4 separate regions of the Homo sapiens genome follow, and regions 1, 2 and 3 are each linked to region 4. The links are contacts of gene promoters, found by promoter capture Hi-C in blood cells and fetal thymus (Javierre and others, 2016). All regions are on one chromosome and are shown on one strand. The core of a region is centred on a gene start or on the middle of the fragment in contact, and the rest is flanking DNA. Distances in the headings are between cores, read along the strand shown.

Region 1 (2,700 bases), core at 124-2,623, 160 kb after region 4:
TACTGAGGCTATCACATATTTTAAAATAAAACTCAATTTAAGAAAAGATCTTTTCTGTACATTTAAGGACAAAGAAAATATTTAGGGTGTAAGCATTTAATCGTATCATGCTATGTGAATGCCTAGTCTGTTAGAGCAGTGTCTAACTCATCTGAAGCAATTAGCTCATCTTCACTCATCAGTTTGTGGTCCCATTTTTGAATTCATGGATATCATGCTGTCCTCACCCCCCGAGGAATAAGGTGAGGTAATTTGTCAAGCAGCTGTTATAGAGATGTTAAAAGGCTAGGAATCAATAATCTAATGAGGAAATGAACATTTGGTAGCTTTTAAATTGCTAAAAGAATGAAAGATATGAGAGCTCTTTGTAGAAGGGTACTAATGAAACTTTGTTTCAAAGATCCTTTTAAAATGTTTTAAAGCACCATAAATAACAGGGTACTAAAGATTTACTTTGAAATATTTGTTTTTCAGTCTTAAGAAGATTTATGTTCGGCTCTAGGAGATGATGTAGTCATCTAATTGCTTTCTCTGAAAGGTTTTTTTAGAGACGTAACTACTCTTACATAGTGATTGGACCTTTAGAAGAGGATAAATTATAATTCTGAATTTATTAAGTTTATGGACTATATATTTATGAAGCAGGTTGTATATTTCTGGTTAGCTCTTCTCCAGTTTTGTAGGAATTTAGCACTCCTGGTTCACCCTTTCTGGAGTACTTAAAGACACCCTCTATGTCTGTGGGGTCTGTAATAAGCATTTGCCAGTGTCTGTAAAGTCTCATTTGGTGCAAAATGGGGTTGCCCGTGTTGTTGCTTTCGCAGACCCTTATTTTTGTAGAAAGAAATGTATTCCTGTTTGTAACATAATATTCCTGTTTGTAATTGAGGAGTTTCTCCTTTTTCTGCTTTTGTGCCATGTTTGTTTGTTTGTTTTTTTTTGAGACGGAGTCTCGCTGTAGCCCAGGCTGGAGTGCAGTGGCGCGATCTCGGCTCACTGCAGGCTCCGCCCCCCGGGGTTCACGCCATTCTCCTGCCTCAGCCTCCCGAGTAGCTGGGACTACAGGCGCCCGCCACCACGCCCGGCTAATTTTTTTGTATTTTTATTAGAGACGGGGTTTCACGGTGTTAGCCAGGATGGTGTCGATCTCCTGACCTCGTCATCAGCCCGCCTCGGCCTCCCAAAGTGCTGGGATTACAGGCGTGAGCCACCGCGCCCAGCCTGTGCCATGTTCTTAACTAACTACACTTGATGCCTATTTTTCCCCCTTTTCCCTGTTTTTAGATTATTTCATTCACTGTGTCCAGAGACATTTTATTTGCTTTAAAAAGTCATAGCGCTATGAGCTTTTCTTAAAGTTTTGTCTTTTTCCCAAGTAGTATATGCATAGGATGGGGGAAAATATGCATTCTGCCGATTATTGGAATTATTTTCTTTTTCTTTTTTTCGGTATGAAAAGCCTTTTTTTTTTTTGACATGTAAAAGGTGGTACTTAGTGTATATAACTCTGTGAGTTTGGAGATAAGTATATATTTGTGAAAACACCACCGCATCAACACCATAGACATGTCCGTCATTCCTAAAGTTTCCCTGTCCCTTTTATTATGAATGTATTATTAGTATTATTTTTGTGGTAAGAACACTTGATATAAAATCTACCCTCTTAGAAAATTTTAAGTATGCAATACAGTATTCTTAGATGTAGGCACTATGCTATATAGATCTCCAGAACTTATCTGGCATAAGTGAAACTTGATTGTCCCCCCACAAGACCCTGGCAATCACCCTTCTACTCTCTGCTTCTGTGAATTTGCTAGTTTAGATTCCACTAAACTAGCAGATAAGTGAGATCATTCAGTATTTGTCTTTCTGGGACTGACATATTATTTAGTGTAACATCCTCTAGGTGCATCTGTGTTGTTGTAAATGGCAGGATTTCCTTCTTAGGCTTAATAGTATTCCACTGGGCATGCACACATGTACACCACGTTTTCTACATTCATCTCTTTTTGGACATTTAGATTGTTTCCATGTCTTAGCTATTAATAATGCTACTGCGAACATGGAAGTGCAGATGTCCGTCGAAATCCTAATTTCAATTCCTTTGGATAAATACCCAGAAGTTGGGATTGCTGGATCATATGGTAGTTCTATTTTTAATTTTTTGAGGAACGTTCATACTGTTTTCCATAGTGGCTGCACCATTTTGCATTTCTACTGACATGTACCAGGATTCCCTTTTTTCTACATCTCCCCAATATTTGTTGTCTCTTGTCTTTTTGACAAGAGCCATTTTGACAGGTGTGAGGTGATATCTCATTGTGGTTTTGATTTGCATTTCCCTGATGATTAGTAATGTTGAGCACCTTTTTATATACCTGACAGGTGTCTGTTTAGTTAGGACCCTTTTTTTTTTTTTTTGAGACAGAGTCTTACTCTGATGCCCAGGCTGGAGTGGTTCACTGCAGCCTTAAAATCCTGCTTTGCCCATTAAAAAATGTTTTCTTCCTTTGGAGTTGTAGGAGTACCCTATGTATTTTGGAAATTAACTGCTTATCAGATATATGGTTTGCAGATTTTTCTCTTAATCTGTAGATTGCCTTTGTGCCCTCACTTTTAAATTTTCTTATTTTTTTTTCCTCTCTTATCATTACCCACAATGCCCACACTTTTAAAATATCAGGTTGTTTTTTAGTGCTA
Region 2 (2,700 bases), core at 185-2,684, 230 kb after region 4:
TAAGAGGTGAGGGTTTAAGTTAATTTTTGTAGATAGTTTAAGGTATGGACTGAAGTTTATTTTTTTAATACAGGTATTCTTTTTTTTTCTTTGAGACGGAGTGTCACTCTGTTGCCCAGGCTGGAGTGCAGTCGCGCGATCTCAGCTCACTGTAGCCTCCACCTCCCAGGTTCAAGTGATTCTTGTGCCTCAGCCTCCTGAGTAGCTGGGATTACAGGTGTGTGCTACCATGCCTGGCGAATTTTTGTATTATTAGTAGAGGTATGTTTCACCATGTTGGCCAGGCTGGTCTCGAACTTCTGACCTCAGGTGATTCTCCTGCTTCGGCCTCCCAAAGTGCTGGTATTACAGGCATGAGCCACCATGCCCAGCCTATTTTTTTATACAGATACTCATTTGTTCCAGAACCATATATTGAAGAGTTTACTTTGTTAAATTTCTTGGCACGTCTTTGACAAAAATTGACCATATAAATGTGTGTCTATTTCTAGATTTGTTAGTTGATTCCATTGATCTACAGGTCTATCCTTATACCACTGTCTTGATTAATGTTCATTTTAGTATAAGTCCTCCAAATTTGTTCTTTTTCAGAATTGTTGTAGTCATCTATTATCTTTCCATTTACATTTCTAAAGCCTCTTGTCAGTTTCTTTAGAAAAGACTGTTGGGATTTATTTGGGATTGCAATTAATCCTTCGATCTATTTGGGAAGAATTGCATCCTTATTCGTCTTTCAGTCTATGAACATGGTAATTCTGTTCATTTATTTAGGTATTCTTTAATTTCCTTTTCCTGTGTCTTATGGTTTTAGCATAAGGATCTTAGGCATCTTTTGTTTAATGCATCCCTAAATACTTTATTGTTCATTTAATGTGAATGGAGTTTTGAAAGAAAATTTATTTTCTAATTGCTTACTGCTGGTTTATAAAAATACAACTGAGTTTATAGACTTTGTATCCACAACCTTGCTAAATTCATTTGTTAGTTCTATTAGCTATTTTGTGGTTTCCTTACGGTTTTATACATATACCTTATCTGCAAATAAAGGTACTTCTACTTCTTCCTTTCCAATCTATGTCTTTTATTTCTTTTTCTTATTTCTTTGGCTAGAATTCAGTTAAATAGTAATGGTGATAATGGAAATCACTGCCTGTTTCCTTCATTGGCTGTAAAACATTGAGACTTTAACCATTGAATGTGATTTTAACTAAGTTTTTCATAGGTGCCCTTTATTACATTGAGGGATTTCCACTATATTCCTAGTTTGCTGTGAGAGTTTATTTTACTGGGATAGAGTACTGAACTTTGTAACATATTTTTTTTTCTGTCTCTTTTGAATTGATCATATGGCTTTTCTCCTGTATTCTATTAAGGTAGAGCATTATTTTGATTGAATTTTAGATTTTTTTTTTTTTTTGGAGATGGAGTCTCGCTCTGTCGCCCATGCTGGAGTGCAATGGCGTGATCTCGGCTCACTGCAACCTCCACCTCCTGGGTTCAAGTGATTCTCTTGCCTCAGCCTCCCGAGTACCTGGCATTACAGGTGTCTGCCACCGTGCCTGGCTAATTTTTGTGTTTTTAGTAGAGACAGGGTTTCACCATGTTGGTCAGGCTTGTCTTGAACGCCTGACCTCAGGTGATCCACCTGCCTCGGCCTCCCGAAGTGCTGGGATTACAAGTGTGAGCCACTGCGCCTGGCCTGAATTTTAGATAGTAAACTAACTTTGCATTCTTAGAATAAACCTCACTTGCTCATAATATATTGTCTTTCTTAAAAAATTATTGGATTCCACTTGCTAATATAAAAAGTTTTATTATCTGTATTAATGAGATTTTGATCTGTAATTACTCTTAAAATATCTGCATCTGGTTTTGGAATCAGGTAATTTTGATGTGTATTAGATGAGATATACACTGGGTGTGATGGTGCATGCCTGTAATCTCAACACTTTGAGAGGCTGAGGCAGCAGGATCTCTTGAGTCTAGGAGTGCAAGAGCAGCCTGGGCAACATAGTGAGACCCTGTCTCTTAAAAAAAAAAAGATGAGATGGCATTCCCTCTTTCTCTATTTTCTGAAAGTGTTTGTGTAAGTTTGATGTTATTCATTTCTTAAGTGTTTGAGAGAATTCACCAGTGAAAATACCTGGGCCTGGAGTTTTGTTTATGGAAAGGTTTTTGATTACAAGTTAAATTTCTTCAGTTGATACAGGGCTGTTCAAGTTTTCTATTTATTCTTAGGTCAGTTTTGTTAGTTTGGTAGTTTATCTTTAAAGGAATTTGTTCATTTCACCTAAGTCAAGAAATTTACATACATTTTTTCCTACTATTCTGTTATCTCCTTAATGCCTAAATAGTCTGCGGTAGTATTCTTTTCATTTCCGATGGTGATAACCTGTGTTTTCTCTTTTTTTTTTTCTTGATTACTCCGGCTAGAGGATTATCAATTTTATTGGTCCTTTCTCCCCCAAAGAGGCAACTTCTGTTTTCATAGATTTTCTACTATTATTTTTGTTTCCAATTTTATACTACCTTTTTTCTTATATTTTTAAAAATTAGTAGACTGAGGGGGATTTGTAGGCAGAGTATAAAAGATTTTTTAGGGCAGTGAAAATAGTCTGTGTTATACTGTAAGAGTGGATCCACATCATGATATGTTTGTCCAAACCCATAGAATGTATATCATCAAGCGTGAACCTTAAT
Region 3 (2,700 bases), core at 64-2,563, 210 kb after region 4:
GTGAGATGGCTGGCTATGAGTTTGACATCTGCTTCACCTCAGTGCAGAAGAGAGCAATCTGGACCCTCTGGACAGTGCTAGATGCCATTGATCAGATGTGGTTGCCTGTAGTGAGGACTTGGTGCCTCAGTGAGCAGCACTATGGGGGTCTGACTGATCTCAGTAAAGCAGAAACTGCTGCAAAGCATGGTGAGGCCCAGGTGAAGATCTGGAGGCTCTCCTATGATGTTCCACCACCTCCGATGGAGCCTGACCATCCTTTCTACAGCAACATTAGTAAGGATCGCAGGCATGCAGACCTCACGGAGGATCAGCTACCCTCCTGTGAGAGTCTGAAGGACTCTCAAAGCCAGAGCTCTGCCGTTTTGGAATGAAGAAATAGCTCACCTGGTAAAAGAGGGGAAATGGGTGCTGATTGCAGTGCATGGCAACAGCCTCTGGGGCATTGTGAAACATTTGGATGGTCTCTCTGAAGAGGCTGTCATGGAGCTGAACCTGCCGACTAGTATTCCCATTGTCTATGAATTTGACAAGAACTTGAAGACCATCAGGTGCATGCAGTTCCTGGGGGATGAAGAGACTGTGCGTAAAGCCGTGGAAGCTGTGGCTTCCTGCTCTTAGCTATGATCGTGTCACTTCACTCCAGCCTGGGTTGACAGAGTGAGACCTTCTATCTAAAAACAAAAATAAAAACAGAAACAGGCTGGGCATGGTGGCTCATGCCTGTAATCCCAGCAGTTTGGGAGGCCGAGATGGGCGAATCATGAGGTCAGGAGTTCAAGACCAGTCTGGCCAACATAGTGAAACCCTGTCTCTACTAAAAATACAAAAATTAGCTGGGCGTGTTGGTGTGCACCTGTAATCCCAGCTACTTGGGAACTTGAGGCAGGAGAATCGCGTGAACCCAGGAGACAGTGGTTGCAGTGAGTCGAGATTGCGCCATTGCACTCTAGCCGGGGTGACCGTGCGAGATTCTGTCTCAAAAAAAAAGAAAAACAAACCCAAAAACAATTCCTTCTTCCCTCACAAAAATGGATGCAGAAGTTAATGAAAGGATTCCGATTAGTAGAGAAGGAGTAGGAGGTGGGTTAAGGATCTTAAGGAGAAGTTGAGAAAATCTGGGTTGCTAATGGGACATGTGGGCATTGGAGTGGAGTACTGATGCACAGATTTTGGGACATCTTTGAAGGCTATTTGTGCTTGAAGTAAATTACTGACAATGATTGCAGCTTGTATGGTTGTGTGGATTTTCATTAGTGTGTTCAGTGTTCTACTTTTATTACTTGGATTGGTACAGGGTTGGAATTCAGCAAGTGTAATGGAAGAAAAAGGAGACAGAGTCAGGTAGAAAGATTAAAAACTGAAGTAATAGCTTTTCCTGTGAGGCTTGACAGAAAATTAAGCCACGAAGGGAGTTGACTCTGAGTCAGTGGGTGCTCGGGTATAGTAGGCCTTGATGAGTTGAAAGTTGGTATGTTAGGAGGTTATGTTCAAAAAGTAGGCCATTGAATTTTAAAATTGCAGAGGTGGAGAGCAGTTCACGCGGTAACAAGATCCGAGGTAAGATCATGGCAAATGTTTTTTTTTTAGTAAAGCAGAGCTGAGGGTGGTTAAATGGCTAGGCAGGTGGTAAGCGAAACCTAGGTAGGGGTGGAGAAGAAGACGATATAAGGGATATTTACAGGGAATGTGGCTAGAGCTCAATGGCAGTGATTATGTGGTGGGCAAAAAGGGATTTAGGATGATTTTTGAGGTTTTTTTTTTTTTGCAAATTACTAGTTAGTGGAACTGCTAACTGAATATACAGTTTAAAAGAAGTGGTTGAAGCATTTGATTTGGATATGATGAACTCAATTTGAACACTTCGTGAGCACACAATTTTGTGGTGGTTTTATTATAGTATTTTTTAGGTGTCTTAGCGATGTCATGAGTTATACTAATAATCTGGCATTCATTAAGTATTATTTTTCCTTCGTGATGACTTCAGCCTGGCAAATTACCTAATCTCTCCATAGTAGTTCTGGTTATAAACTATTTTTTTCTTCAAAATATTTTATGTATTTTATAAGAAGTTCAAACAGGATGGAAATATCTTAAGTGAGTTAAAGCCCTTGTCCTCTGTAAACCAGTGTATTATTTTTCCTTTGTTCTTTAAATGTCTGGACTGTGACTATTTGGGAAAGATAAAATTAAAAAAAAAAACCAAACTTTTTTTTTTCTGAGATTCTAATGTTATTTATCAAACAGTGACCGATATTCGCTAAATTTGGATGTAATTTAAATTGGTTGCTGGCCCTGTGCGGTGGCTTATATCTGTAACTCCAGCACTTTGGGAGGCCAAGGTGGGTAGATCACTTGAGCTCAGGAGTTTGAGACCACCTTGGGAAACATGGTGAAACTCCCTCTTTACAAAAAGTACAAAAACTAGCCAGTGTGGTGGCGGGTGCCTCCAGTCTCAGTTACTTGGGGGTTTGAGGCAGGAGGATCGCTTGAGCCCTGGAGGTTGAGGCTGTAGTGAGCCCTGACCTTGCCACCGCACTCCAGCCTGGGTGACAGAGTGAGACACTGTCTCAAAAAAAAAAAAAAAAAAAGTTGGTTACTGACTCCCTTCCTGAATTATTCTTTTAAAAAAAACTTTAGGCTTTCTATTCTCCTTTTTTTTTTTTTTCCGAGAAGGAGTCTTGCTCTGTCACCCAGGCT
Region 4 (2,700 bases), core at 66-2,565:
ATTCTCCTGCCTCAGCCTCCCGAATAGCTGGGACTACAGGCGCCCGCCACCACGCCCGGCTAATTTTTTGTATTTTTAGTAGAGACGGGGTTTCACCGTGTTAGCCAGGATGGTCTCGATCTCCTGACCTCGTGATCCGCCCGCCTTGGCCTCCCAAAGTTCTGGGATTACAGGCGTGAGCCACCGCGCCCGGCCTAAAATTCCTGTTATTCTCATAGCAGGGTCTCCTGAATTTTTCCTTAAGTCCCATCATTTTATTATTTCCATCTCTATAGGCTTTTGCTCTGTTGTGTTAAAGAAATAATTATTCAATGATACTTGTTAAAGCACATTAAGGAAGACTTTATTTAGCACCATCGCTACAGGTTTAGGGACCACTGCAATGAGTTCTTGCAGTGGAGGAGACAGGTTGGGATCAACTCTGAATGCATCACGGACAAGTGGGAATGTATAGCCAAGGAGCAGTGTAGGGGGTCAGTGGATGGAAAATTGGTAAGAGGCATCAGGGGTAAGGGGGATTCTATCTAAACTGACCTAACAGGATTCTCACTGAAGACAGGCCAGGGTGGTCGGATATCACTTGGGGGATGGTGGAGGATGAGATATTGAGGGTGATCAGATGTCAAGGATGGGAGGTTCTTACTAAAACAGGAATTTACAAGGAGTGCTACGGATATGTAGTGGGGGGAGGCCAGGGATGCTGCTAAACATCCTACGATGCACAGGACGATCTCCTACAATAACGAACTAGCTAGTCCAAAATGTCAATAGCGCCGAGATTGAGAAACCTTCATGTAGCTTACGGATACAGCTTTTACCCAATCGCCAGCATCCTTCTCCTGGGGCTGAACCTCTCCCCCAGGACTGTCAGGAGGAGGCGAGTGATAAGGATCCCAGGACTGCGTTTTGCCTTCCTTCCCCACCCCCACTCCCAACGGCTCCTTTCTCTTCTCTTAGCAGCACCCAGCTTGCCCACCCATGCTCAAGATGGGCGGGATGCCAGCCTGTTACATAAATGTGCCAAAAGCCTGGCCATGCCTGGAAAATGGACCAATCCGCCCGCCAAGAGGTTGGGTCTCGTTCCCTAGAGAGAAGGAAGTTTCCTCTCCTTGAAGTGAGAGCTAGAATCGCACTTTCTGTCAAGCTGAGAGAAAGACTCTTTTCCAGAGGCTAAAAGGACAAGAAAATCTGATTTGCTTGCTTCTAACTTTGCGTTTTAAAGGGGGAAGGAGGAAAGGAAAGAGGGGGAGGGTGGTTCTGCTTAGCCCCACCCCTCCGGCTACCCCAGGTCCAGCCGTCCATTCCGGTGGAGGCAGAGGCAGTCCTGGGGCTCTGGGGCTCGGGCTTTGTCACCGGGACCCGCAGGAGCCAGAACCACTCGGCGCCGCCTGGTGCATGGGAGGGGAGCCGGGCCAGGAGTAAGTAACTCATACGGGCGCCGGGGACCCGGGTCGGGCTGGGGGCTTCCAACTCAGAGGGAGTGTGATTTGCCTGATCCTCTTCGGCGTTGTCCTGCTCTGCCGCATCCAGCCCTGTACCGCCATCCCACTTCCCGCCGTTCCCATCTGTGTTCCGGGTGGGATCGGTCTGGAGGCGGCCGAGGACTTCCCAGGCAGGAGCTCGGGGCGGAGGCCGGGTCCGCGGCAGACCAGGGCAGCGAGGCGCTGGCCGGCAGGGGGCGCTGCGGTGCCAGCCTGAGGCTGGGCTGCTCCGCGAGGATACAGCGGCCCCTGCCCTGTCCTGTCCTGCCCTGCCCTGTCCTGTCCTGCCCTGCCCTGCCCTGTCCTGTCCTGCCCTGCCCTGCCCTGTGTCCTCAGACAATATGTTAGCCGTGCACTTTGACAAGCCGGGAGGACCGGAAAACCTCTACGTGAAGGAGGTGGCCAAGCCGAGCCCGGGGGAGGGTGAAGTCCTCCTGAAGGTGGCGGCCAGCGCCCTGAACCGGGCGGACTTAATGCAGGTACCCAGGGCTCAGCCGCGCCGGGGCGGGCGGGACTCCAGAGCCTCCCTCTCAACAGCACTCAGTGGACATTGACCAGACGTGAAGGCGTGCACCGCTCCACACCCAGCAGGCAGCTGCGCTGGGGCTTCCCAGACCTAAACCCAGGGCGCCCTCTTTGTTCATGCAAAACAAGGGGGAGTACTTGTAAAGCAGAATCCACCCCGAGCTAATCCATAGCCACTCAGGCCTCCAGATGAGGGCGGAACTAACATTGTTGTGGGGTGTGGGCACACTTACTCCCCAGGCTACCCTGTTCGCCATCTTAATTCTACAGATAAGGAAACTGAAGTTCAGTGAGGTTAAGCAGTACGCCCAAGGCCGTGACACTAGCAATCAGAAGAGCTGGGATTCAAGCTGAGGTCTTTGTGGCTCCAAAGACCTCTTAACTCTTTCCACTCTGAGAGTCCCGGAGCTGACAGCGGGCAGTACTCTTAAGAATTTTCTTCTGTCTGATGCTGATTTACTGACCTGGGCCAGCTGCATTGGTTGGGGTCATTCAGAAATGTGCATCAGAATCCCCCGGGGCACAAAAGAAACGTGATGGGGGCCCAGGCACGTGTACTTTGAAATACTCCTCAGGTGGTTCTGCCACACACTCCTGGTTAAGTCCCTCTGCTCTACAGCTTCTGAGGACTGGGGTGAGTGAGCACAGAGCCTAGCGCTTGATGCATGGGAACCATCGTCAAGGTTCCTAATCC

The links. The method cuts DNA at HindIII sites, captures the fragments that hold promoters and counts their contacts. A CHiCAGO score of 5 or more calls a contact.
Region 1: a fragment that was not itself captured here is called in contact with the fragment with the promoter of TP53I3 in region 4 in 13 of 17 cell types (total CD8 T cells, naive CD4 T cells, naive CD8 T cells and 10 more); the score reaches 12.5 in total CD8 T cells.
Region 2: a fragment that was not itself captured here is called in contact with the fragment with the promoter of TP53I3 in region 4 in 8 of 17 cell types (naive B cells, total B cells, non-activated CD4 T cells and 5 more); the score reaches 8.5 in naive B cells.
Region 3: a contact is called between a fragment that was not itself captured here and the fragment with the promoter of TP53I3 in region 4, in 6 of 17 cell types (naive B cells, naive CD8 T cells, total B cells and 3 more). The highest score is 8.3, in naive B cells.

What each region holds. Positions count from the first base shown.
Region 1 is chr2:23,922,423-23,925,122 of GRCh38, reverse strand. All of the region lies in intron 1 of ATAD2B (ATPase family AAA domain containing 2B), which reads left to right. Among named protein-coding and RNA genes, the nearest start is that of ATAD2B, 3.4 kb to the left of the region's middle. The HindIII fragment of the contact is 2,762 bases long and covers 1-2,700 here.
Region 2 is chr2:23,851,637-23,854,336 of GRCh38, reverse strand. The region is part of intron 13 of ATAD2B (ATPase family AAA domain containing 2B); the gene reads left to right. Among named protein-coding and RNA genes, the nearest start is that of ATAD2B, 74 kb to the left of the region's middle. The HindIII fragment of the contact is 4,900 bases long and covers 1-2,700 here.
Region 3 is chr2:23,870,177-23,872,876 of GRCh38, reverse strand. The region is part of intron 8 of ATAD2B (ATPase family AAA domain containing 2B); the gene reads left to right. It also overlaps the pseudogene PGAM1P6. Among named protein-coding and RNA genes, the nearest start is that of ATAD2B, 56 kb to the left of the region's middle. The HindIII fragment of the contact is 5,735 bases long and covers 1-2,700 here.
Region 4 is chr2:24,083,449-24,086,148 of GRCh38, reverse strand. It overlaps TP53I3 (tumor protein p53 inducible protein 3), which reads left to right and starts at 1,315. Exons shown (of 5, transcript NM_004881.5): 1 at 1,315-1,960. The coding sequence starts at 1,823. It also overlaps a transcript of FAM228B not described here. RefSeq lists enhancers at 530-1,030, 1,778-1,827, 1,978-2,077, 2,673-2,700 and a silencer at 1,588-1,767. The HindIII fragment of the contact is 14,995 bases long and covers 1-2,700 here.